7 separate regions of the Homo sapiens genome follow, and all the other regions are linked to region 2. Evidence: promoter capture Hi-C in 16 types of primary human blood cells and fetal thymus (Javierre and others, 2016). All regions are on one chromosome and are shown on one strand. The core of a region is centred on a gene start or on the middle of the fragment in contact, and the rest is flanking DNA. Distances in the headings are between cores, read along the strand shown.

The links. The method cuts DNA at HindIII sites, captures the fragments that hold promoters and counts their contacts. A CHiCAGO score of 5 or more calls a contact.
Region 1: a fragment that was not itself captured here is called in contact with the fragment with the promoter of CAB39 in region 2 in 1 of 17 cell types (naive B cells); the score reaches 6.9 in naive B cells.
Region 3: a contact is called between a fragment that was not itself captured here and the fragment with the promoter of CAB39 in region 2, in 5 of 17 cell types (total B cells, total CD8 T cells, non-activated CD4 T cells and 2 more). The highest score is 7.1, in total B cells.
Region 4: a contact is called between a fragment that was not itself captured here and the fragment with the promoter of CAB39 in region 2, in 2 of 17 cell types (non-activated CD4 T cells and naive CD4 T cells). The highest score is 6.2, in non-activated CD4 T cells.
Region 5: a contact is called between a fragment that was not itself captured here and the fragment with the promoter of CAB39 in region 2, in 3 of 17 cell types (naive B cells, activated CD4 T cells and total B cells). The highest score is 5.8, in naive B cells.
Region 6: a fragment that was not itself captured here is called in contact with the fragment with the promoter of CAB39 in region 2 in 2 of 17 cell types (total B cells and naive B cells); the score reaches 8.3 in total B cells.
Region 7: a contact is called between a fragment that was not itself captured here and the fragment with the promoter of CAB39 in region 2, in 2 of 17 cell types (naive B cells and total B cells). The highest score is 6.8, in naive B cells.

Annotation. Positions count from the first base shown.
Region 1 is chr2:230,298,695-230,302,321 of GRCh38, reverse strand. The region is part of intron 22 of SP140 (SP140 nuclear body protein); the gene reads right to left. Among named protein-coding and RNA genes, the nearest start is that of SP140L, 27 kb to the left of the region's middle. The HindIII fragment of the contact is 1,414 bases long and covers 787-2,200 here.
Region 2 is chr2:230,711,503-230,715,377 of GRCh38, reverse strand. It overlaps CAB39 (calcium binding protein 39), which reads right to left and starts at 2,536. Exons shown (of 9, transcript NM_016289.4): 1 at 2,148-2,536. LOC124907996 (formin-like protein 16) reads left to right here and starts at 2,052. Exons shown (of 4, transcript XM_047446832.1): 1 at 2,052-3,299. The coding sequence starts at 2,052. The coding sequence ends at 2,810. RefSeq lists a silencer at 1,825-2,764. The HindIII fragment of the contact is 1,861 bases long and covers 947-2,807 here.
Region 3 is chr2:230,318,628-230,322,455 of GRCh38, reverse strand. No RefSeq gene overlaps it. Among named protein-coding and RNA genes, the nearest start is that of SP140L, 6.7 kb to the left of the region's middle. RefSeq lists an enhancer at 2,830-2,979. The HindIII fragment of the contact is 4,319 bases long and covers 1-3,733 here.
Region 4 is chr2:230,418,358-230,421,952 of GRCh38, reverse strand. The region is part of intron 2 of SP100 (SP100 nuclear antigen); the gene reads right to left. Among named protein-coding and RNA genes, the nearest start is that of SP100, 4.0 kb to the right of the region's middle. The HindIII fragment of the contact is 3,455 bases long and covers 580-3,595 here.
Region 5 is chr2:230,363,493-230,367,322 of GRCh38, reverse strand. The region is part of intron 5 of SP140L (SP140 nuclear body protein like); the gene reads right to left. Among named protein-coding and RNA genes, the nearest start is that of SP140L, 38 kb to the right of the region's middle. The HindIII fragment of the contact is 2,179 bases long and covers 161-2,339 here.
Region 6 is chr2:230,273,869-230,277,724 of GRCh38, reverse strand. All of the region lies in intron 15 of SP140 (SP140 nuclear body protein), which reads right to left. Among named protein-coding and RNA genes, the nearest start is that of SP140, 50 kb to the right of the region's middle. The HindIII fragment of the contact is 3,406 bases long and covers 158-3,563 here.
Region 7 is chr2:230,240,193-230,244,085 of GRCh38, reverse strand. SP140 (SP140 nuclear body protein) reads right to left here. Exons shown (of 27, transcript NM_007237.5): 4 at 2,599-2,682; 5 at 275-355. Among named protein-coding and RNA genes, the nearest start is that of SP140, 16 kb to the right of the region's middle. The HindIII fragment of the contact is 7,592 bases long and covers 1-3,893 here.

The DNA.
Region 1 (3,627 bases), core at 244-2,743, 410 kb after region 2:
CCTGGGTTCATGCCATTCTCCTGCCTCAGCTTCCTGAGTAGCTGGGAGTACAGGTGCCTGCCACCACGCCCAGCTAATTTTTTTTTTTTTTTGTATTTTTAGTAGAGATGGGGTTTCACTGCATTAGCCAGGATGGTCTTGATCTCCTGACCTTGTGATCCACCCACCTCGGCCTCCCAAAGTGAGTAATTGTTTTGTAAATTTGGGAACTCCACAGTTAGGTGCATATTTAGGATTGTGCTAGTTTCCTGTTGGACTAGTCCTTTTATCATTATATAAGGTCGCTCTTTGTCTTTTTTAACTGTTGTTGCTTTAAAGTCTGTTTTGTATGATGTAAGAATACCTACTCCTGCTCGCTTTTGGTGTCCATTTGCATGGCATATCTTTTTCTACCCCTTTACCTTAAGTTTATGTGAGTCCTTATGTGTTAGGTGAGTCTCTTGAAGACAGCAGGTGCCTGGTAAATTCCTATCCATTCTGCCATTCTGTATCTTTTAAGTGAAGAATTTAGGTCATTTACATTCAACATTAGTATTGAGATGTGAGGTACTATTCTATTCATCATGCTAGCTGTTGCCTGAATACCTTATTTTTTTCATTGTGTTATTTTTTAATAGGCCTGTGATATTTATGCTTTAGGGGGTTCTATTTTGGTATATTTTGATATATTGTTTTAAGATTTAGAACTCCTTTTAGCAGTTCTTGTAGCACTGGCTTGGTAGTGGTGAATTCTCTCAGCATTTGTTTGTCTGAAAAAGACTTTATCTTTCCTTCATTTATGAAGCTTAGTTTCTTGGATACAAAATTCTTGGCTGATAATTATTTTGTTTAAGGAGGCTAAAGATAGGATCCCAAAGCCTTCTAGCTTGTAGGGTTTCTGCTGAGAAGTCTGCTGTTAATCATTAGATAAGTTTTCCTTTGTAGTTTAGCTGATGTTTTTGCTTCATAGATTCTTTCCTTCATCTTAACTTTAGATAACCTGATGACTCTGCCTGAGTGATTATCTTTTTGTGATGAATTTTCCAGATGTTCTTTGAGCTTCTTGTATTTGGATGTCTAAATCTCTAGAAAGGCCAGCAACATTTTCTTTGATTATTCCCGCGAATATGTTTTCCAAACTTTTAGATTTCTTGCTGAGGAACACAAATTATTCTTAGGTTTGGTCATTTATCATAATCCTAAACTTCGTGGAGGCTTTGTTCATTTTTAAAAAGTTCTTTTTTCTTGTTGGATTGGGTTAATTCCAGAGCCTTGTCTTCGAGTTCTGTAGTTCATTCTTCTACTTGTTCTAGTCTATTGTTGAAACTTGCCAGTGTATTTTGTATTTCTCTAAGTATGTCTTTCACTTCCAGAAGTTGTGATTGATTTTTATTTATGATATCTATTTCTCTGGAGACTTTTTCATCCATATCCTGTATTATTATTTTAATTCCTTTAAGTTGGTTTACACCTTTATCTGGTGTCTCCTTGAGTAGCTGAATAATTGACCTTCTGAATTCTTTTTCTGGCAATTCAGAGATTTCTTCTTGGTTTGGATCCATTGCTGGTGAGCTAACGTGATCTTTTGGGGGTGTTATAGAACTTTGTTTTGTCATTATCAGAATTGTTTTTCTGGTTCCTTCTCACTTGGGTAGACTACGTTAGAGGAAAGATCTGAAACTCAAGAGCTGCTGTTCAGATTCTCTTGTTCCACAGGGTGATCCCTTAATGTGGTGTTCTCCCCCTTCCCCTAGGGATGGGCTTCCCGAGAGCCAAACTGCTGTGATTGTTATTGCTCTTCTGGGTCTAGCCACCCAGAAGAGCTACTGGGTTCTGGGCTGGTACTGGGGAGTATCTGCAAAGGGTCCTGTGATGTGATCTGTCTTCAGTTCTCCCAGTCATGGGTACCAGCACGTGCTCCAGTGGAGGTAGCAGGGGAGTGAAGTGGATTCTGTGAGAGTCCTTGATTGTAGTTTTGTTTAGTACACTGGTTTTCTCAAATGTTGGTTATGCTAGCAGTGAGGTTGTTACAGGGACAGACTCAGGATCTTTGGTTAGCCAGGATGTTACAGGCAGTATAATTAGTTGTTGTTTTCTCCTTCCTGGAGCAAGGTGGTTCTCGTATGAGTGTCTGTAATGACTTGAGTTGGCTGACCTTCGGCGAGGAGGTGGCACTTTCAAGAGACCATCAGCTGCAAGTAATATGAGGGGGATACAAGCTTGACCTAAGTTCACTGGATAAGTATTCGGTTTTCTCAGGTGATGGGTGAGGTCATAGAGCTCCCATGAGCCCCTGTCTTTTGTCTTCAGCTACAGGGGCAGGTAGAGAAAGACCATCAGCTGGGGGCAGGGTTAGGTGTGTCTGAGCTCAGATTCTCAGACAGGGCTTGCTGTGGCCACTGTGGGGGATGAGGGGTGGCTTGCAGGCCAATGGATTTATGTTCCAGAGGGGATTATGCCTGCCTCTGCTGCTTCATACAGTTCACCAGATAAGTAAGGGAAGCCGGCAGTGACAGGCTTCACCCAGCACCCAGGCAGCCAGCAAGGCCAGTCTCACTCCCGCTGTGGTGCCCAACAGCCAACAGAGCCAAATTTATATCCAGGCATCCTTTGCCTGGAGCTAAGATCTTGCCCCAGGAAGAAGCACCCCCATTGAGAAAGCAAGCAGGGCTTTCAGATCTCACCCCTCCCTGCCTGCCATGGCTTCTGCACTTATATCTGTACTTCAGGTTCACACCCCCAGATTCTGACCAGGAAAATTTGTGCTTGGTTAAAATTATTACAAAGTTCAGCTGGAAGCCTCCTTCTCCCCATGGCTCTCTGCAAATTGTACTGGCTGCCCTCCCCAAGGACTGTGAGATAAAGTCAGAAATGGCTTCCCTGGGGACTGAAATGCTTATAGGGATCCTTGGGGAAGGCACCTCTTCCTGCTGCTTATTCTACTTTTATATTTCACCCAGCTTTCTAAATTCATTTCAGCTCTAGGTTAGGTGAAATCCTTCTCCTGTGATCTGGATTTCCAGGTTCCCCAGTGAGGATATGTGTTCAGAGGTGGACTTTTTCCCTCTCACACTTTGAGGACTCACGGTTTTTTGGCTATCTCCCAGAGTTTGCGGTGGCAAGCCACTTCTTTTAAAGGGTGTGTGACTTCCTTCAGTTTTGCTGGTATATTCCTGCAGTGGTTCTTGGAGCAAAAGTTCACAGTGTGAGTCTCAACACGCTGTTCTGTCCATCTGAGTAGGAGGAGCAAGTTAGTCCTGCCTCCTATCTGCCATTTTGTTCTCCAAACCCATCTTTTCAAGAAGAGATTTGATTTCTCTGGTTCTTTGGTTGTTGGCCTGGCTGTACATTAGACTCCTCTCAGGAGAGTATATAAAATGCTAATGTCCTGAACCCAACACCAGAGATTCTGAATCACTGGGTCAGGGTTGAGGCACAGGCACTGGTATTCTTCTTTAGGTGACAGAATAGGCAATTCTATGTATCAGAATTAGTACATCTGGGGATCTTAAACAAATCCTAATGTTCCAGTCATACATAGTCCAGAATGATTAAATTATAATTTCCCCAGAAGTGGGATCCAGGAAACAATATTTTTTTAAAGCTCTTCAAGTGATTCCAGGCTGCAGGACAATATGAGATTCAACC
Region 2 (3,875 bases), core at 1,287-3,786:
TTTATTCAACAAGCAAGAGGATCCAAGTCTTACAGAGAAAGAAACATACTTCAAACAAGAAACTTTCAGAAAAAGTTCTGTCCACACTAGTAGTTATTAAGCCTAACTACTGCATTTCATCTGAGGTAAATAATACAACCTTGTCAGGAAAACATAACATGCTTAGAAGACTTCCATTGTTGAGTAAAAATTTTTTATATGAAGATATTTAATGACAAGAAAAGCTTAATAAGAGATGTGTGTGTGTATACATATGCATACAATATATTTCATTATGCAAAGAAAAAATACACAGAAAAAGACTGGAAAGAAAATACGCAAAAATGTTAGCAGTAACCAAATCTAAGTGGTAAGATTATAGAAAATGTTTTAAAGATTTTCTAGCACTCCCTGAATTTTGGAAGCTTTGACAAAGATCATGTATTATTTTGAAAAGCAGAAAATTTTTAAACTGCAAAAAGGTGGCATTCACTTGTCATACACGCAAACAAGTGCAAGCTTACAAAACTTAGGCCCTAAGCTGCTTTCACAGATCGTATATTCTAGATTTCGAATACAGCTGCTAATTACTTCCTAACAATTTGAACAAACTACAAAATAAAGCTAAACACTTTCACTTCTGGCTCTACTATAAAGATTTCATAATAAAATAAAATATAAAAACAAAGTTTTACCTTTCTGTAAAAGGTCTACGTCTGGCTTTCTACAGCAGAATATTACTAACCATTTTTTAAAAATCATCAATTTATGTTATTTTACACAAATGCCACCTCAAAGAATGTAGGTTTAGCTTAGTAATTCCAAAGTACATACGCCTAATACAAAGTGCAAGAAGTTTTTATGCACTGTAGCGAACGCACAAATAGAAACACCTTCTGTGTGCAGATGAGCTTATTTTATAGACACCTTTCCATTACCTCTTAAGAGCCTGATATCTAATGAAGCTTTCTGCAAAGGTACTTTGCTTAGCCTGGGCATGGATTTACTTGATTATCTGGGAAGCTGTCAAAATCGATCTGAAACTGCATTACATTCAAGGCACAGAATGTCAACTCCTGACTGGGCCTCCTCCTCTCTCCTTTCACAAGAGCGCCTTTAATATCCCCTAGCCTACATTTCCGGGCTCATGAGTCACTGAGAAATGAGCTCTAAGTTTCTCTTAGAATGCTGCTCAAATAGCTCCTCTACAGCATTCAAGGATCTGGCCCCAAAATACCTCTTTAGCCCAATACCCCCCGCCCCCTGCACCATGCCAACAAACGGAATTATCCATGATTTCTAGGCTTTGTCTTCTCGCTTTTGCTACCCCTTCCACACACCTCTTCTGCAATCCTCCTCTCCTAAATCCCATCAGGCCTTCAAGACTCTGCTCAGCATCCCCCGCCCAGGAAGCCTTCCAGGTTTCTGCGAGGCAGAAGTGATCGGTTCGGTTTTTCCGGGTGCCGTTCTAGCACTCCGTCGTTCTTTCACAGGACTTATCACCTCCTTCCCGGTATCGCAGTTATTTGTGTTCTCGTCTTATCTCTCACACCAGAGCCTAAGCTCCTCGGGGGAGGGGACCGGGGCCCGCTTCACCTTTGAATCCCTCCGGTGCGGGCCGACTACGGCGCCTGCACGCAGTCTGCGCTTGGGGTGGTTCCATTGAACTCCAGAACGCTCCGACCGCCCAATTCCTAACCAGAAATCAGTTAGGCATTTTCCTGAATTGGTCACAAAGCTGGTATCTGCCTCCCGACAACAGGAAGTTTACCAGGGGCGGGAGCGAGGCGCTGAAGCCCGGGTGCAGCCGGTGACAGTTGACCCGGCCCGCACTTCCCCGCCCGCCCGACTCCGGCCCGGACCACCACGCGCCGCCAGCCCCGCCAGAGAACCACGGGGGGAGAGGCAGGAGCGCCTGGACTGCAGGCCCCCGGGCGCCCCACGCCGGCGAAGGCAAAGGGAGCGTCTCAGCGAGGGACCGGAGCCGAGCCGGGCGGAGAGGGCAGGCTGGGCCCGGCTGCTCCCGGGGGCTCCGGGGACAAGCTGGGCCGGGGCCGCCGCCACCCAGGAAAATGGAGGCAGCCCCGGGGCCGGTGAGGGCCCAGCGGGGCAGGCGGAAGCCGGGCAGGCGTCCGCACCACGAGCAGGGCCGGCCGGGGGTCACTCACGGGGCTGGGCCGGGCGTTCCCTTCTCTGCCTCCGCGTCGTCGCTGTCCCCGTCCTCGGCCGCCGCCGCTTCGGGCTGCTCGTTCGGTCCCCGCGGAGTGGCTCGGACGCTCGGCCCCTCCGTTGTCTTCCGCCCGCTCCTGCTCCCGGCGACGGGCTCCCGCGGCGGCGGCGGCTGCGCGGGCGGACGGCTGCCCAGGGGCTCCCGCGGCTGCCGCCGCGCTGCTGCGCTCGCTTGGGCTGCGGCTGCTGCTGTGGGGCCCGGCGCCGCCTTAGTCTTCGCCTGTGCCCCCGCCCCGGCGCCTGAAGGCTCTGTGTCTCCCAGGCCGCGCCGCTCCCCGAACCCCTCGCCCCGCTTGCGGCCCGAGCCCGGCTTTGACGTGCGCACTGCGCAGCCGCCGAGGACGCGACGTCGGGCGGTGCCGCAACGCCCCCTTCCGCCTCGGGCGCCCCCGAGCGGCCGGCGGACTCAGGGCGCCGCAAGTAGGCGCGAGGCCCGAGCGGGAGGGGCCGCAGAGAAAAGCAGAAGCCAAGCCCCGCAGTTCCTCTTCCTCCGCCGCAGCTTCCAAGGCGGGGCTCAGCCCTTTCTCCTCCGCCTGAGCGCTCTTACTGCGGGAATCGCACGCCCACTTTCAACGACCACTTCCTCAACTCTTCAAGCTTAATTCTGCGAGAGGCCGGGATCCCACTTTGTGCAGACCGATTCTTACTTTCTTGGAGCAGATCGCTTCATTTTAGCATCCAGGGGGACACAGCATCCAGGGGGACAAGTGCCAGAACGTTCCAGATTAATGGGAATATTCCTATTTAAATCAGCAACCTGGATTTAAGTCCTGCTCCACCATTTGCTATCTATGGGCTGTTTCACGTCCCTGTGCCTGGATTTCCTCACACATTAAAAAAAAAAGTGTGTAATAATATAGTGGTACCAGCCACGGGCTTCTGAGGATGAACGGGACAGTGCATTGCAAAGCTCTGACAACGGAGCCTGGCACATACAAATGCCATATGTGTGTATTTTTGTTTCTTTGTTTTTAATGTGTAACTGAACTACTTTTTAAGCGCCTCCTGTACGTCAGGGATGGGGCAGTGAGCGAAACAGTCCATGCTCCTAGCACAAACAGTTGACAAATAATTGACTAATAAACCTACAGGTATGTATAATACTGGACAATTGGGCCAGGCGCGGTGGCTCACGCCTGTAATCCCAGCACTTTGGGAGGCCGAGGTGGGCGGATCACGAGGTCAGGAGTTCAAGACCAGCCTGGCCAACACCGTGAAACCCCATCTCTACTAAAAATACAAAAAACAATTAGCCGGGCGTGGTGGCGGGCGTCTGTATTCCCAGGTACTTAGGAGGCTGAGGCAGGAGAATCGCTTGAACCCGGGAGGCGGAGGTTACAGTGAGCCGAGATCGCGCCACTGCACTCCAGCCTGGGCGACGCAGCGAGACTATCTCCAAAAAACAAAAACAAAACAAACAAAAAACAACAACAAAAAAACAAATACTGGACAGTTAAAAACACCACTGGGTGAGGAGGGGAGAGAAAGCAGGGTGTTGTTATTTACAGTGTTCATTCAGGGAGCAGCTTCCTGGAGAGAGAGAGCCTGGGAGCTTTCTGTATGGAAAGGCAGAGGGAATAGCAGGACCAAGGCCCTGAGGCGAGAATCTGCTGGCTTGAAAGCGGCCCCAGATAGGGGAAGAGATGAGGAAGAAGTGCGGCCCTACC
Region 3 (3,828 bases), core at 325-2,824, 390 kb after region 2:
TTTTTGGGCTGGATTTAGGGGGCTTTTTAATTAAGGTGAACTTAAAATTGTGGTGTTTGTCCAAGATGATGGTGCTCCTGCTCTGTCACAGGGCTCCTCTGAGTCTTAGCTTCCCTTTGAGCCCCAACTGCTGGACTGAAAAAGAACGACTCTCTACAGGTTCACCACGTTTCACATTCTGGAGATTCCTGATGGCATCTTCCTGTGTTCACCAGTGGGTCCCCATTAGCACAAATATCAGCTATCATCGGATATTTGGAACCAGGCAGCTCCATGTTGGATGTACCCCACAAGGGTGGAACTAAGGCTGTGGGGTCAAACCTGCCCTCAGAAAGGTGGAGGAATGTCTTCTGAGCTGTGGTGGGACTGAGGTCTCCTTGTGAGCTTCAGGGTCCCAACAATGCTGGGCTGGGCACCACCAGGAGTGGAGAGAACCTGGAGGCTGGGGCTGGAGGCAGCAAAGGCTTCAACGAAATGTGCAGCCTTTTAACAAGTCCTCACTCCTAATATTTCTGCAAACCTCCATGTGTCTACTAGTTTCAGCACAGTGAGCTGGAATGGAATGGTCCCTGGACTATCCTAGATCTTAGGACTGCCAGGTGATGCATGTGTGGTGAGAGAAGGAGAGTACCTCGTGGACCATCCAGATGGTGTCCACCAGCACCTCATGGGCAGCAACTTTCATTTCTTTGGGCTGGAAAGTGGGTGCTCCTATGAAGAACAGGGTACCTGGCAAGGACCTCAGTGTTGCTGAACAAAGGAAGAGTGGGGTGGAAAGTGTAGCTTCATGAAGATTTAGAGATTATGAGACAGGAAGTACAGTTCTAGCAAAGGCCAATGCCCATCTGCCAACCATGGTCTGGAGGAGATGTGCAGGGAAGGGGTGGAGTCTGCCTTTCCACAGGTGCTCCTCCTGGAAATGTGGGTGGGAAACAGCTGACTGGACCACTAGGGGGGGTTCTCCCAGGGCACCTGTGCCTAGCAAGGGCTGAGAAAACCCTGTTTTGAGGATGAGGTGGGTCTTTTTAGCCTGTCAGTCATAACAGATCTGGTCTAGGAGAAATCCAAAATAAAGTCTAATGAGCTCTCACCAGGGCCAAGCGGTGGGAGCTTGGTGGGACAGCCCTGTGCATTTCTCATAACTGGTGCACGTGCTTTTCATGGGTACAAATGCTGTGCCCAGGGAACAGGTTGGCATCATATAGGGCCCCAGCCCACTAGCACAGGACCACCTGGTCTGGCCAGGCCATGAAATGGCCCTGGGAACCAGGCTTTGCTGGGAATCTTGTGTCTCACCTTGGGATGAGGTTGTCAGGGCCAGGTGGGCTGTAAAACTGTCAAGTGGAACAAGTTTTGGGGAGCAGGTGGCCTCCAGGGCCTTCTGGTCCAATGTCTTTCTGGACAACATACTGACACAGTTGTGCTGATTCCCACAACAATGACATTGAAGTTGAAAACTCATCCATCTCAAAGATCAGATGGTTGTAGATGTGTGGTATTATTTCTGGGCTCTGTTCTGTTCCATTGGTCTATATCTCTGTTTTGGTACCAGTATCATGCTGTTTTGGTTACTGTAGCCTTGTAATATAGTTTGAAGTCAGGTAGCGTGATACCTCCAGCTTTGTTCTTTTGGCTTAGGATTGTCTTGGCAATGTGGGCTCTTTTTTGGTTCCATATGAACTTTAGTTTTTTCCACCCACAGGATTATAAATCATGCTGCTATAAAGACACATGCACATGTATGTTTATTGCGGCACTATTCACAATAGCAAAGACTTGGAACCAACCCAAATGTCCAACAATGATAGACTGGATTAAGAAAATATGGCACATATACACCATGGAATACTATGCAGCCATAAAAAAGGATGAGTTCATGTCCTTTGTAGGGACATAGCTGAAGCTGGAAACCATCATTCTGAGCAAACTATCGCAAGGACAGAAAACCAAACACCACATGTTCTCACTCATAGGTGGGAATTGAACAATGGGAACATTTGGACACAGGGTGGGGAACATCACACACTGGGCGGGGCCTATCATGGGGTGGGGGGAGTGGGGAGGGATAGCATTACGAGATATACCTAATGTAAATGACGAGTTAATGGGTGCAGCACACCAACCTGGCACATGTATACATACGTAACAAACCTGCACATTGTGCACATGTACCCTAGAACTTAAAGTATAATAATAATAAAAAAAAGAAAACTCATCCATCTCATCTGCTACTGATCCATTTTCTTGATGTATAGGGGAATAAAGGGTAAGTTCCCTGACAGATCCACTTATGCAGCTACTAGCCAGTTGAGAATGGCCAGTGGACTCAGTCTAGTAGGTGACACCCTCCTTTCCAGAGAGAATTGGAGACCCCTCTGCACTCCCAACACATACCATCTATGGCCTATTACACCCTCTCTCATGAATAATTCTAGAGGATGTTCAGCCCATTGAATGTGGAGCTATGGAAGTGAGGGGCTCGCATTTATCTCAGAGCCTGGATTCCAGGCTCAGCTGTGATGACAATAATGGTATTCTTGAGCTGTGCTTGTAAGAATTTGGAATTGGAAATTGGGTCCTTCCCCACTGGGGAGCATGAGGAAGTGGGGCTGGGATTTACCATTTATCATTCAGACAATGGCACAATGCAGGAACCCAGGAGTTATTTCTTGTATTTCCTGAATAAGCACAAAACAAAAAGCACCAGCCAGCTCCTGTACAGCACTCTGGGCCACATGTACTGACACAGATGTTACAAAACCATCTAAGAGCAGACATGTCCACTGGCATGCAGAGTGCACCAGCCATGGGCACAATCCCATTCTGTGAGACTCAGAGGAGTGAACACAGACACCAGAGAGAGAGCCAGAAGTGGTGGCTACATCATTATATGGCCAAGACTCGAGGTCCTGAGATCTCAAGGCTGAGGTCCTGCATCCTCCTCCCCACCCAGACTCAGGCAACTGTGGATGAACCCTCTGGAGGATGAGGTGAACAGGAGATGGAAAGTGGTCCTACCCACCTTTCTGGCAGCTCTGGCAGGATGCGGTTAAATATGTAACCACATGTCTCAGTAGAGAAGTAACCCCCTTCCCTGAACAGGCCACACCCTAGTTTCCTGCTTAATGCTGGCGGGGCCACACTATACAACTCTAGAGTGTGCTGTCCTTGTGTGAACTGGTGTAGACTCTTTCAGTCACACACAAATGGAGTTCGGCGGAAAATGTGAATGAAGATTTCAGGAGAGCAATATCTCGGTGTTGATGTAAGGTAGTAAGAGGTGGTTTCATGTCAGATGAAAAATTCCAGCCCAGAGGAATCTGAACAGAAGTGATAGCAGAAGGTGGGAAGGCACCTGGTTAGTCACATTGACCTGCAGCACCCAGTGTCCAGTCTGCATCTAGAGTGACTACATTGGCAGCTAATTGCTAACTCTAGCTTGGATCAGAACAGGAAGAGCTTTTGTTCTGGCAGGTGATTTCTGTGTTTAGGTTCAAGCCACACTCTAGTTCTTGTCTGCAGTGGGCAAAGCTCTGCTCTATGTTCAGACTGATTTCACTTCACTCCAGGCATCAGCCAGAGACTTGGGAAGGGTCATACACATTATCTGAGTTCTTTTCTGTGGCTTTTTGCCTTCTGGGATTTTCCCTTCATTCCTTAGAAAGCCTGGTTGCTCTGGGCTCTTCCCCATGGCTTGGCCAACCACAAAGAAGGTAGGCTTTCTATCAAAGCTTTGGTTGTGCCACACAAAACTGTTGTTGCTCTCAGGGACAGGCAATAAAAAACAGGAAGTGTCTCTTCGAGTTTCATTTACCTTACAGAGGCCTC
Region 4 (3,595 bases), core at 1,058-3,557, 290 kb after region 2:
AGAGAGATAAAGCAGAAGGGAGAAACTATTCAAATAATATCACAAGCAAAATGGTCAGAATTGAAATAAAGTTGTCCATTTGAAAGGGCCCTGGAGAGCAAAGCACAACAAATGAATTTAACACCCACATCAAGGCAAACCATCATGAGATTTTAGAATCAAGGGATCAAAGAGAAGAGCCAGAAAATTTCAGACAGGCAAAACAGGTGACATAGAAAGACAGGATCAATAATCAGAATGGCATCAGGTTTCTTATTAGCAATGCTGGAAGTTGCAAGACAGTGAACTAAATTAATTTCCAAACTCTGCATTTATACTTACCAAATATTTATGCAGTTGTGAGGATTAAGGATAAAATTTTTTTTCCAGACATGTACAATTTATATATATATATATATAGTGTCTCTCAATTGAATCCCAGTAAGGTAGGATATATATATATATATATGTATATCTTCTATAAACTCTTAGTCAGGAGGCTACTGGATAATGTGGTAAACCAAAATGAGATAGTAAAGCAAGAAAGAGGTATACATGTAATCCACAAAACAAGACCCAACACAGGAGAGATGTCAAGCTTCAAGGTCAGCCTTGGAAGCTGAAACTAACCAGAACTGATGGAATCAGGGGAATGGATAATTCCAGGAGGGTTTCCCCAAGAAAGTAAAATGGACTTGATAAATTACCCAATGTGCCTCACTGTACTGAAAAGAATTTTAGAATTCTGCAGAGTGCTTGGGAAGAATTCATAATGAGGACACACAAAATCCAAGCAAATATATAAGAGGGCAATAGTTATTTGTGGGGTCGGCGGGGAGGGGCGGGAGGATGTTGCACAGGAAAGGAAATGTAATCATAATATAGTAGATGACTTGGTTATGAACAACATGTAAATAGTCATCATAATGGTAACACTGATTACTGATGAACCTCCAACTGTGATGTATTATGAGAATGGACAGGGAATGAAAAGGAGTGTTATGGAAAAAGTCTTCATCTTCTGTCCTATTATGTGAACAGATTAATGTCTGAAACTTGAAAAATTACAAAGAGCTGTATCAGCACATCATTTCAAAATACAGAAGTAAATACAAAAGTAAGAGCCAAAAAGTTAATCCATTAGGGAAACTGGACATGGGCTGGGAAGATGGCAGAAAGTACTACTTGTGTTTTTAAAGGTCTTATTGACTGATACTTTAAGCTATATATATATATATGTTTTACTTTGGTGAAATTAATAACCGAATTAATAAAATGTTTCAATATAATTTACTGTGGATAAATCAGATTAAAAGAGAAAAATGATACAATTCTCAAAGATTCTTTAGTAGGCATTTTGATAAATATCCTATACACAGGCCTGATTAAAATAAATAACTTTTAGTAAACCAGAGCCAGCAGGAAATGTCCTTAACTTGAAAAAAGGTGTCTATAAGAAAGCCTCAATTTAAACATTATAAGTATTCCCCTTGAAATCAGGAATAAAACTAAAATGTTCATTTTTACTGTTACTATTCAGTATTACACTGGCAGTCCTGGCTAATGCGCTAAGGCAAAAGAGAAAGAAAAAAGAAAGAAAAAGAAAAGTATACAGGTATAAATTCTGAAAAAGAGGAGACAAAGCTGCTACTATCTTTGAAGATGTAATTATTTCTCCAGAAAAACACAAGACAATATTAAGAGGGAGAAGACCACTTAGTAAGACTCCTATGCACAAGATCAGCTAACTAAAATGAATAGATTTCCCTTATGCCAGCAAGAAATAACTAGAAAATGTAAAAGGAAAATGAATTCCTGTTTACAAATACAATTTTAAAATGCCTAGAACTAAAGCGACCCAACAAGGTCCCAAGTTCAAACAATCATGAATAAATGGAGAGATTTACTATGTTTCTCACTGGGGCCATTCAGGATTTTTTTAAAACATAAATTCTTCCTAAATTTATCTGTTCATTTAGTGTCTCTCAATTCAATCCCAGTAAGGTAGGTTACAGAACACTACCTATAAAATCATAGTAACTAAAACATTTCAGTATTGAAACAAGAATGAAAATAGAACCATGGATCAGATCATGGGTCACCAACGCAAATTCATATGTAAAATTTAGCACACTAGTTCCCTTCTATCCACAGGGGATGCTTCCAAGAACCCCAGTGGATGCTTGAAACCGCAGATAGTACCAAACTCTGCATATACTATGTTTTCCCCAATCTGTACATAAATTAGGCACAATAAAAGATGAATAACAATATCTAATAATAAAGTAGATCAACTATAACAATGTAGTGTAATAAAAATTATGTAAATGTGGTCTCTTTTTGTCTCTCAAAACATCATACTGTAGATATTAACAACCTCAGCATATTATTTTTTTCTTTCAGGAAATTTCACATTTTCACCTAAAGGAAGCCCTTGACGGCTTCTCTTTGGCATATCTGAATTGCCAGCATCAACCTTCTTGTGCTTTGGGGCCATTATTGACTAAAATAAGGGTTCCTTGAACACAAGCTCTGTTATACCAGGACAGTCGATCTGATCACCAGGACAGCTACTCAGCGACTCATGGGCTGGTAGTGTCTACACTGTGGATACCCTGGATAAAGGGATGGTTCACATCCTGGGCAGGATGGAGAGGGACAGCATGAGATTTCATCACACTCCTCAGAACGCCAAGTATCTTAAAACTCATGAATTGTTTTCTGGAATTTTGCATTTAATGTTTTTGGACCAAGTTTTACTGCAAGTAACTGAAATCTCAGAAAGTAAAACTGTTGATAAGGGAGGACTACTTTAGTTAATAATGGCATAAAAATATCAAATATCTATGAAGGAATCTAGCAGAAGGGCAAAACCTTCAGAGAGAAAAATACAAATTTTAATAGGAGACATTTTTAAAGTAATAATATACATAAACCATATTCATGAGATGGAAGTCTCGTGAATGTAAAGATGTCCATTCTCTTCAAATTGATTTATAGATCCAGTGCAGTTCCACACAAAATCTCGAGATTTTGACAGGCAAATTTGGGAGTCTAAGACATTCTGGAGGAAGAGGAAGAGATTTGCTCCCTCAGATGTCAAGAGTTCCTGGGAAGCTGCCATCACTATGGCAGCGTGGTACTGGCATAAGGAGGGGCTGTCACCGGCCAAGGGGAGAGAAGAGAGAACACAGAAGCACACCCTGCCTCTATACTCCCAAAAAGGGTAGCACTGCGAATCAGCAGGGAAAAGGATAATTTAATCAATCAACGGTGAACTCAGAAAAATTGATAAGAATCAAAACAAAGACTTCAAACTGTAGCTCAGACAAAAAACAATTTGATCTCAGATAAAACAGGGAATGTTAAAAAAAAAAAGAAAAAAAGTTCATCCAGATTATGACTAAGCAAACGGGAAGTTTGGGGTGACCTGCCCTGGCCAAGCCTGGCTAGAGGAGCTGTAAAGCCACCACAGGCACGTGGAACACAAGATCAGACAGAATCAGTCTGGAAAAATAACTAAGAGACAACAAGGAGAATATCCCAAAGTTCTTAACAGCACAGGCAAACCTAAATAAAGCAAGACTGTGAAGACTGAATGACAAGAGGTTATGGA
Region 5 (3,830 bases), core at 1-2,500, 350 kb after region 2:
AGACTCTGTCTCAAAAAAAAAAAAAAAGAAAAAAAAGAAAGAAAGGAAAAAAAAGAAAAGAAAAGAAAATGAGAAGTTAGAGTAAAAGTACAGTACAGAGTTTTTGTAGGCTATCAGCTTAAAACAGCCTATTATAACTATAAGATATTTTTTGTAAGCTTCATGTTAACCACAAAGCAAAAACCTATAGTATTTACACAAAAGCTAAAGAGGAGTCAAAGCATACCACTAGAGGAAATCACTTAATCACAAACGAAGGAAGAGAGAAAGAAAGGAATAAAGAATCTACAAAGCAGGCTGGGCATGGTGGCTCACGCCTGTAATCCTAGCACTTTGGGAGGCCGAGGTGGACAGATTGCCTCAGGAGTTCGAGACCAGCCTGGGTAACATGGTGAAACCCCATCTCACCTAAAATACAAAAAATTAGCCAGGCTTGGTGGCATGCGCCTGTAGTCCCAGCTACTCAGGAGGCTGAGGCAGGAGAATTACTTGAATCCGGAGACGAAGGTTGCAGTGAGCCAAGATCATGCCACTGCAATCTAGCCTGGGTGACAGAGTGAGACTCTGTCTCCAAAAATAATAATAATAATAATAATAATAATAATAATAATAGATAATAATCCACAAAACAACCAGAAAACAATGAACAAAATAGTTGTAGTAGGTACTTGCCTAGCAATAATTATATTAAGTATAAATAGTTATGTTAAGTATGGATTAAATTCTCCAATCAAAAGACAGAGTGGCTGAATGAATAATAATAAAAAAAAACTCAAGTATCTATGGCCTACAAGACACTCACTTCACTTTTAAGGATACATATAGACTGAAAATGACAAGATAGAAGTGAATATTCCACGCAAATGCAAACCAAAGAAGGAAGGAGTAGCTATACTTATATCAGATGAGATAAATTCAAATTGAATACTAAAACAAGACAAAGAAGATCATTATATAATGATGAAGCAGTCAATTTGTTAAGATGACATAATAATTGCACACTAATATATATGCACCCAACATCTGAGCAACCAAATATATATTAAATAAATATTAATAGATTTGTAGGTGAGACAGACTGTAATACAATAATAGTAAAAGACTTTCATACCCTACTTTCAGCACTGGATAGATCATTAAGACAGAAAATCCACAAAGACAAATAAAATGTAAACTATATTTTATACCAAATAGACCTAACAGCATCATAAAGAACATTCTATTCTACAGGAGTGAAATATACATTCTTCTCACTTGTACATGGAACATTCTCCAAGATAAATCATACATTAGGCTACAAACTTAAAGTCACGAAGGTTGAAATTATATCAGGTATCTTTTCTGACCACAATGATATAAAAGTAGAAATCAATAACAAGAAGAGTTTTTTAATTTTGTAAATACATGGAAATTAAACACACTCTTGAGCAGCCAATAGGCCAATGAATAAATTAAAAGGAAATTTAAAAAAATATTGAGACAAATGAAAATGGAAACACAACATAACAAAACTGATGGGATACAGCAAAAGCAGTTCAAAGAAGAGGAGTTTGTAGCAATAAACACCTACATCAAGAAAGAAGAAAGATCTCAAACAGCCTAATGTTACACCTTAGGAAACTTCAGACAAAAAAGGAAAACTAAAGCCAAGATTAGTAGAAAGAAGGAAATAATAAATATTAGATCAGAAATAAATGAGATAAAGACTAGAAAAACAATGAAAAGATAAACTAAACAGAGTTGGTTTTTGAAAAGGTAAACAAAATTGACAAACATTTAGCTAGACTAAAAAAAAAGAAAAGACTCAAATGAATAATATCAGAAATAAAAGAGAAGACGCTGTAACTCATACTACAGACATACAAAGGACCATAAGAGATTGCTATGAACAATTATACACCAAAGAATTGGATAACCTAGAAGAAATGGGTAAATTCCTAGACAGATACAACCTACCAACACAAATATAAAAACCTGAGCAGACCAATAATGAATAAGGAGATGTAATCCAGAATTGAATACCACCCATCAAACAAAAGCCCAGGACCAGATGGTTTCACTGCTGAATTCTGCCAAACATTTAAATAATAAATACTGATACTTTTCAAACTCGTCTAAAAAATTGAATAAGGGGTCTATTTGTAGGCTTAGTCTATGAAGCCAACATTACCCTGATACCAAAGTAAGGCAAGGACACTATAAGAAAAGAAAACTACAGGCCAGTATCCCTGATAAACATATATGATATCCCTGATATCCCTGATAAACATATGTGAAAAATCCTCAAAAAATACTATCAAATCAAATTCAACAGCACACTCACCATGATCAAGTAAGCTTTATCACTGGGATGCATGGATGGTTCAACACACAAATCTTAAAAGGTCATACGTTGCATTAATAGAATGAAGGACAAAAATTATATGATTATCCCAATAGATGCAGAAAAAGCATTGGACAAAATTCAACTTTTTTCATGATAAAAATTTTCAACAAAATAGTTATAGAAGAAATGTACCTCAGAACACTACCATCTACATATGACAAGCCTACAGCTAACATCATAGTCATTAGTAAAATGTTGAAAGTTTTCCCTCTAAGATCAGAAACAAGAGTAGGGTGTCCATTCTCGTCACTTCTAGTCAACACAGTACTGCAAGTCCTAGACAGAACAATTAGGCAAGAAAAAGAAATAAAAGACATCCAAAGTGGAAAGGAAGAAGTTAAATTGTTCTTAATTGTAGATGACATGATCTTATATAGAGAAAACCCTGAAGACTCTACCAAAAAACTGCTAGAACTAATAAATTTGGTAAAGTTGCAGGATACAAAATCAACATAAAAAATCTGTTGCATTTCTATACGCTAACAATGAACTATCTGAAAAAGGCATCAATAAAACAATCCAATTTACAATGAAAATACTTAAGAATAAATTTAACCAAGGAGGTGAAATATTTGTACACTGAAAACTCTAAAATGTTGATTAAAGAAATAGAAGAAGAACAAAAAATGGAAAGATACCCCATGTTCATGGATTGGATTAATTAATATTCTTAACATGTTCATACTATCCACAGTGCTCTAAAGATTCAGCGCAAATCATATAAAAGTTCCAAAGACATTTTTTTCTGAAATAGAAAAACAATTAAAAATTTGTATAAAAGCACAAGAGACCCCAACTAGCCAAAGCAATTTTAAGCAAAAAGAACAAAGCTGAAAGCATCACACTACCTGACTTCAATATATACTACAAAGCTATAATAATCAAAAGAACATGGTACTTGCATAAAATAGACACATAGACAAATGGAACAAAATAGAGAGCTTGAATCCATGCATTTTTGGTCAACTGATTTTCAACAAAGGTGCCAAGAACACGCAATGGGGAAAGGACAGTCTCTTTAATAAATGATGTTGGGACAACTGGATCTTCACGTGCAGAAGAATGAAATTAGACCCTATTTCATGCCATATTAAAAAATCAACCCAACATGGATTAAATATTTAAATTTAATACCTGAAGCTGCAAAATTACTGGAAGAAAACAGGGGAAAAGCTCCATGACATTGGTCTGAGCAATTATGTTTTTGGTATGACACCAAAAACACAATCACAAAAGCAAAAATAAAGAAGTGAGACTACATCAAACTAAAAAGTTTCTGCATGGGCAAGGAAACAATCAGCAGAGTGAAGAGACAACCTACAGAAGGGAGAAAATATTTGCAAACCATATGTCTGATAAGGGCTAATATCTAAAATATGTAAGGAACTCAACCAACTCCATACTAAAAAAAAAAACAAAAACAAATAAACAGATTATAAAGTGG
Region 6 (3,856 bases), core at 611-3,110, 440 kb after region 2:
TATAGATTTAAACATTAAAAAGTATTCCAAATATTCTAGAAGTAAGTAAACATGTTTCTAAATTATGAGGTGGACAATATATTTGCAAATTTTACATAAAACCTGGAAACCATAAATGAAAAGGCTGACAGATTTGATCAGATAAAAATTTCAAGCTTCTTTGGGATAAAGATACAGGCATATCTTAGAAATACTTGGTTTCAGACCACTGCAATAAAGTGAATATTGCAATAAGGTAAATCACACAAATGTTTTGGTTTCCCAGTGCATATGAAAGTTATGTTTACACTATACTGTGGTATATTAAGTGTGCAATAGCATTGTGTCTAAAATAAAATGAACATATCTTAAACATACTTTATTGCTAAATGTAATGCTCATGATCACTTGAGCCTTCAGTAAGTCATAATCTCTTTGCTGGTGGAAAGTCCTGCCTGGATGTTGGTGGCTACTGACTGACTAGGGTGGTGACTGATGAAGGCTGAGGTGTCTGTGGAAATTTCTTAAAATAAGACAGTAATGAAGTTTGCTAAATTGATTGGCTCTTCCTGAAAGATTTCTCTGTAGCATGCAATGCTATTGAGTAGCATTTTATCACGGTAGATCCTCTCAAATCTTGCTGCTGCTTTATCAACTAATATATTCTAAATCCTTTGTTGTCATTTCAACAATGTTCACAGCATTTTCACCAGGTATAAATTCCATCTCAAGAAACTGCTTTCTTTGCTCATTCTTAAGAAGCAACTCCTTGTCCACTCAAGGTTTATCATGAGATTGCAGCAATTCAATCACATCTTCAGGCTCCACTTCTAATTCTGGTTCTCTTGGCTATTTCTGCCACACTTGCAATTACTTCTTCACTGATGTGTTGAACACTTCAAAGTCATCCACGAGGATTGTAATCAACTTCTTCTAAATTCCTGTTAATGTTGATATTTTGACCTCCTCTCATATATCATGAATGTTATTATGGCATGTAAAATGGTGAATCCTTTCCAGAAGGTTTCCAATTGACTTTGCCAAGATTCATCAGAAGAATCATTATGTATAGAGACAGCTATAGCATTACAACATGTGTTTCTTAAATATTAAGACTTGCAAGTTGAAATTACTTTTTGATCCATGGGCTGCAGAATGGACGTTGTGTTAGCAGGCATGGAAATAATGCTAATCACCTTGTACATCTCCATCAGAGCTCCTGGATGACTAGGTGCACTGTCAATGAACAGTAATATTTTGAAAGGAATCTTTTTTTCTGAGGAGTATGTCTCAACAGTGGGTTTAAAATACTCAGTAAACCATGTTGTAAACAGATGTTCTATGATCTGGGCTTTATTTTACTTATACAGCATAGGCAGAGTAGACTTAGAATAATTCTTAAGGGCCCTAGGATTTTCAGAATGGTGAATGAGTATTGGCTTCAAGGGAAAGTCACCTGCTGCCTTAGCTTCTAACAAGAGACTCAGCCTGTTCTGTGGAGCTTTGAAACCAGGCATTGACTTCTCCTCTCTAGCTATGACAGTTCTAGATGGCATCTTCTTCCAATAAAAGGCCGTTTAGTCTACACTGTAAAACTGTTGTTTAGTGTAGCCATCTTCATCTAGGATCTTGGCTAGATCTTCTGGACAACCTTCTGCAGCTTTTACATCAGCATTTGCAGCTTCGCCTTGCACTTTAATGTTATGAGACAGCTTCTTTCCTTCAACCTCAGGAACCAACATCAGCTAGCCACAAACTTTTCTTATGCAGCTTCTCACATCTTTCAGCCTTCATAGAATTGAGGAGAGTTTAGGCCTCACTCTGGATTAAGGCTTGGCTTAAGGGAATGTTGTGGCTGGTTGGATCTTCTATCCAGACCACTCATACTTTCTCCATATCAGCGATAAGACTGTTCTACTTTCTTATTATTCGTATGTTCACTGGAGTAGCACTTCATAACTTGGCTGATTGTTTGCTGCAACAGGCCTAGTTTTCAGCCTCTCAGCTTTTGACATGGCTTCCTAACTAAGCCTCACCATTTCTAGCTTTTTATTTAAAGTGAGACACATGTGACGCTTCCTTTAACTTGAGCCCTTAGAGGCCATTGTAGGATTATTAATTGACTTAATTTCCATATTTTTTTGTCTCAGGAAAGAGGAAAGTCAAAGAGAGGGAGAGAGACAGGGGAACAGCTGGTCAGTGAAGCAGTTGAAACACACACAACATTTATTAGGTTTGCCATCTTATACGAACACAGTGTGTGGTGCCATAGACAGTTAGAATAGTAACATCAAAGATCATTGTTACCACTGTTCATACTACCATAACAGGAAGAAGAATAATAATAAAATTTGAAATATTGCGAGAATTACCAAAATGTGACAGAGACACAAAGTGAGCACATGCTGTTGGAAAAAGGGCACCAACAGACTTTTTTTGACACAGGGTTGTCACAAACATTTAATTTGTAAAACTCACAATATCCTCAAAGTACAATAAAGTGAAGTGCAATCAAACGAGATGTGCCTATACCACAAAGAAACGTAAAAGAATAACATCAAATATGACAACACACGTAGTCAACCCTTAGTATATATCATATATAAGTATTCCTGTTGTCCTAAAGCATGGGGAAAAAAAGACAACACACTGGCAAAATATAAGTTCCAGGCACTCGTAGGAGAAGAAACAAAAATGGCCAATAACAAATGAAGAATGCTCAACTGCACCAAAAATGAAAGCAATGTAAGTTAAAACAGGAATGAAATAAAACTTTTTTTTACAGTTAAGTTGGCAAGATATTAAATGTTTATAATATCCAGTGCATGTTATATTGATTTAAAAAGAAATGTAACAGTTTAAATGTATTCATTTAGATATATCACATAATTCTAAATGTGCTAACAAAGCATAGAAAAAAATATAGAAATATGTACAGCAAAGTTTACAGGGAACAAGTATTTTAAAATCAGAAAAAAAAAGCATAAAGGTGTAAGTAATTTGAAAAAATATAAATTGTTAGTTTAGAAGATTGAATATAACCGTATAGGGTGAAATTTTTTTTTTGTCTTACAAAAGGTATTGCTGCTGTAATAAATTACCATAAATTTAGTGACAAAAAAATCACAGATTTGTGGTCTCATAATTCTGAGGGTTGGAAATCTGACATGCACCTAACAGGGCTAAAATCAATCAAGGTGTCTGCAGGGCTTTGCTCCTTTCTGGAGGCCACAGAGGAGCCTTTTCCAGCTTCGGAAGGCTGCCCACATTCTTTAGTTGATGGACCCCTGCATCCATCTCCACATCCAGCTCTATTCTCTCTGACCATTCTTCCATAGTCACACATCCCTCTCTCGACAGAAGGATATGTTCTCTGACTTTAGTGGCCCATGTGATCTTATCTCAAGATCCTTAACTTAATTACATCTTCAAAGTCCCTTCTGCCATGTAAAGTAACAGATTATAGGTTCTAGGAGATAGGACATGGAAATCTTTGTTTCTCTTGGTACAAAACCCTCAAGAGTCTTATGGATCTCCTGCATATATCATGGGGATTTCTGATTTCCTCCATTAGACATGAAGCTTCCCTACAGATCTTTCCTAGGAATTCACACATCTATTTTTTTTTTTTTTTATACTTTAAGTTCAAGGATATATGTGCAGGTTTGTTACAAAGCTAAACATGTGTCATGGGTGTTTGTTATACAGATTATTTCATCATCCAGGTATTAAGCCTCATACTTATTAGTTATTTTTCCTGATCCTCTCCCTCCTCCAACCCTTCACCTTCTGAACCTTCTGATAGGCTTCAGTGTGTGTTGTTCTCCTCTAGGTGTTCATGTGTTCTCATCATTTCGTTACCACTTATAAGTGAGAA
Region 7 (3,893 bases), core at 672-3,171, 470 kb after region 2:
ACAATAATCGTTTTTATTCTCTAGAGAAAGTAAGTGGTGGGTAGGTATAATCAAGTTTTTATTATTAGTAGACATGAAAGACATCATCCTTCTCTAGCATATTTCTACTATAACATACACTTAGGAAAATTTAGCAGAATTATAGGATCCAAGGACAAAATGGATCTTTTGCCTGTGGCATGTACTCAGAGTAAAATGCATTAGGAAACACCAGCTCTGAATTCCACCTCCTGACACCCTGCAGGTCAGGGAGAGCAAGTCACTCCTTCCTTACCTGGCTCACACCTTGGCGAGGAGCTCAAGGCTTCCTGAGGCACTGCTATATCATCCATTTCATGACAGGCATTGCTGTTCTCTGCCGAAAGGAATGAAATCCCTTAGATGTCTTGATTTATGGTCAAAAAGCCATCAAAACAAGAAAACAAATAATGAGAAAACTAAGAAAACCTGATAATCTGGAAGGTCCCCTCTCCCCAAACAACCTGACCTGAGGATTCAGTCCTTCAGTAACCTTCACCAGAGGCTGAGAATAATTCATCCACTGTGGGGGAGTCTTCCTTTCCTTATACCTTGTTCTCTTTCCCATTTTCTCACTCATGTCTTTCCACCTGTTTCTGTACATTTCCTCAATCTCTGCCTCTGTTTTTTTCTGCGGATGTTTCTTGGAGCCTCTCTTTCCTAGATGCATTTCTCTCTTCTCTGCTCCTGCAAATTTTTTCTCTTGCTTTCTCTGATACTGCTCTTTCTCTCCCATCCTTGGTCTCCCAATTGTGCCTTTCTAGCTTTCTCTAAAGAAAGACCTCCCTTTGATCATATATTCTAAGTAGGATTTAGCTGGATTGGAGAAGGGTAAATGGAGGATAGTGGGACAGGAAAACAATTCTAAATAAGGCAGCATAGAGAAAACATAGGGAAAGGCTCAGTTTGAAAGAGAGATTTAACAATTGAAATTATTGGGGGAAATTTTATTCCACCTTGAAGTAATATTTCAGGAGGCAGGGATTAAGCTGGAGAAGTAAGCAGGTGGCTCATTGTGGATGCCTTTGGATGCTACTTAAAAACCCATTTATTTAATCCTTAGTGTATTAAGGAGGTAAGTAGGAAAATGATACAATCTGATGTGCACTTTAAAATATCCCATCTAGTTGAAGTGCAAATAACACATTTGATGGAAGCAAGATTAGAGGGAGGAGATGAGCAAAGGATGTTGCCCTGAGAATCATGAGGGTGATGGAGATCTGGACCAGAGACCTGGTCTTGGGGATGCAAAGATGGACAGGCCAGGGGCAACCTGAAGATGAAATGATTACATTGGCTGCATAACTGGCATGTATTTGAGGGCAAGGGAGGAGTCATCCATGATGACTTGACTAGGTTTCCAACTTGAAAAACCATGGGATAATAGTGATCCGTCTCTGAGAGAAAGAGTGCTGCAGAGGAGTTCGATCTAACTTGAGCAATGAAGATGTGGCTTTCAGTTCTCAAAGTACCAAGTTTAAGGTTCTTGAAAAAAATCAAGTGTAGATGTCTATCTGACCCTTGAGTAAAGGTCCTCAGGTCCATGAATAAATGTACTCTAAAGATAATTTAGAGTGGAGATTTGTGCTTGGGAATCATTGGACTATTCTGGGAGAGATCTATTGAAATCTGAGTATCATGCAAGTGCCACTTTGATGTGGGAACAGTTCATTCTGAAAACTTACGGTTAATGGAATAAACCCTTGTAAAGTTATGGATATCCAGTGCTCTTACCTCAAACCTACACTGTCCCAGTCTGTTTCTCTCTCCCTTTTATCCACTTTTCACTCTCAAGTGTTTTACACCCTTTTTTTCTTAACTCTTTATCTACATAGTTGCCTCTGTACCTCTCTACTTTCCCCATTTCTTGGTATTTATTTTCCTCTCATCTTTCCTTTTCCATATACTTCTCTCTCCATTTTTACCTCTGATCCTTGGCAGATGTTTCGGTTTACCTTTTCTCTGCTGTGTCTTATACTTCCTCTCTTTCCATTTCTGTTTCTCCCATTTCACTTTGATCTTCTATCTGCCAACACTATTTCAGTTTTGTCTCCCTGCGCAATTCTATCTTTCAGGCTCCCCTCTCTCTCCATATCCAAACTCCCCTCTTGGACTGTGACCACAGTACTAGAGACCCCTAACTGGTCATCTCCGTAAGGAATATCTCTCACCTGAATCTGATATGGCTTAGGTTATTTCTGAGTTTCTCTTAATAGTTCTATGAAATTAATTAAAAATAATCCCCTTATCTCAACCTCGGAGGGTAGGACTTTTATGTTCCTTTAGAAGATGGAATCCATTCATGTAATTTGTCCTGTATTATTCTCTGTCTACCTTTCCCATTTTCTCTTCTTATATTCTCCACCAATGGAGACTCCATCTATTCAAGAGATCAGATCTCCTTTTTCATTGGTTCTCTCACATCTGTTGGCAGATAAGGGCAGGTACATGGCTGTGTGAGGGGAGGAGGACTGGGAGATAACAGAGGGCTAAGACAGGAGAGGAAATACAAGATTTGCCTCCATGAAGGCAAGGAAGCAAAACTTTAATAAGGGCATTGATCAGCTAAATGATAGTTACCTTGTTTACCATATGGTAGTAATCTGGGTCTATCTTCTAAATCGTTTACATTATTCATTTGGAGAGGTGAGTGTTCATAGCATACTGAGGAAAACAATGTGAAAATTACCAAACTCAGACAGTGACCAGAGGAGAGACCTCAGTGTGCTCAAGATGAACTTGATGTCCAAGCCCCAGGATCTCCCACCCCCGAGGTCCAACAGAGCCTTGTTCCCCTTTTTTTCATTGAGAGGCACATATCTTAAGTGTAAATCATTGTGAAACCAACATCCCAGTCAAGATTCAGAACATTTCCACCATCCCAGAAAATTGCTTTGTGCTTAAGACACCACTGTTCTGGTTCCTATCACCAGCAATGGCGCCTTCCTTTCTGGCACTGTACTTGTCTGTATTGTCTGTACTTGTACTTATATAAATAGGATCATGCAGTATGTACTCTTACAACTTGCTTATTTTGCTCAACATAATGTTTTTGAGATTTATCCATGTTGCTCTATGTGATAACAGTTCATTCTTTTTATTGCTGAATAGTATTATACTCTATAAATTAGTCATAGTTTATCTACCCTCCGTTGATGAGCATTTGGGTTGGTTCCAGATTTTAGTTATTATGAATAAGGCTGCCATAAACATTCTTAAACAAATCTTTGCATGAACATATTTTCATTTCTCTCATGTAAATACCTAGGAGTGAAACTGCCAAGATCATAGGTTAGATTTAACTTTATAGGAAATTGCCAGGCACTTTCCCAAAGTGGTCGTTATCATTTTACATTCCTACCAGCAAGGGATGGGAGGTCCAATTGTTCCATATTCTCATCAGCACTTGGTATTGTCAGTCTTTTTAATTTTAGCAATTCTAGTGAGTGAATGATATCTCACTATAACTTTAATTTGCATTTCCCTCATGATTAATAATGTCATACACTTTATATTCTTGCTGGACATTTTATATCTCCTGTCTTGAAATGTCTGTTCAAATCGTTTGTCCATTTTTTGAATTGGTGATGTGTCCTTTTATTATTCATTTATAGGAGTTCTTCATATTTTGTGAGTACAATCCTTTGTTAGATATGTGTATTGCAAAATATTGTCTCCCAGTCTATGGCTTGTTTTTTCCTTTTCTTAATGGTGACTTTGGATGCATAGTTTTTAATTTGTTGACATCTAACTTACCAAGTTTTTCTTTTATGATCCATGTTTTTTTGTGTCCTGTATAGCAAATTACTGCCTACTCTCAGTTTGCAAACACACTGTCTTATGTTTTCTCTTTTAGCAGCTTTATACTTGTAGTC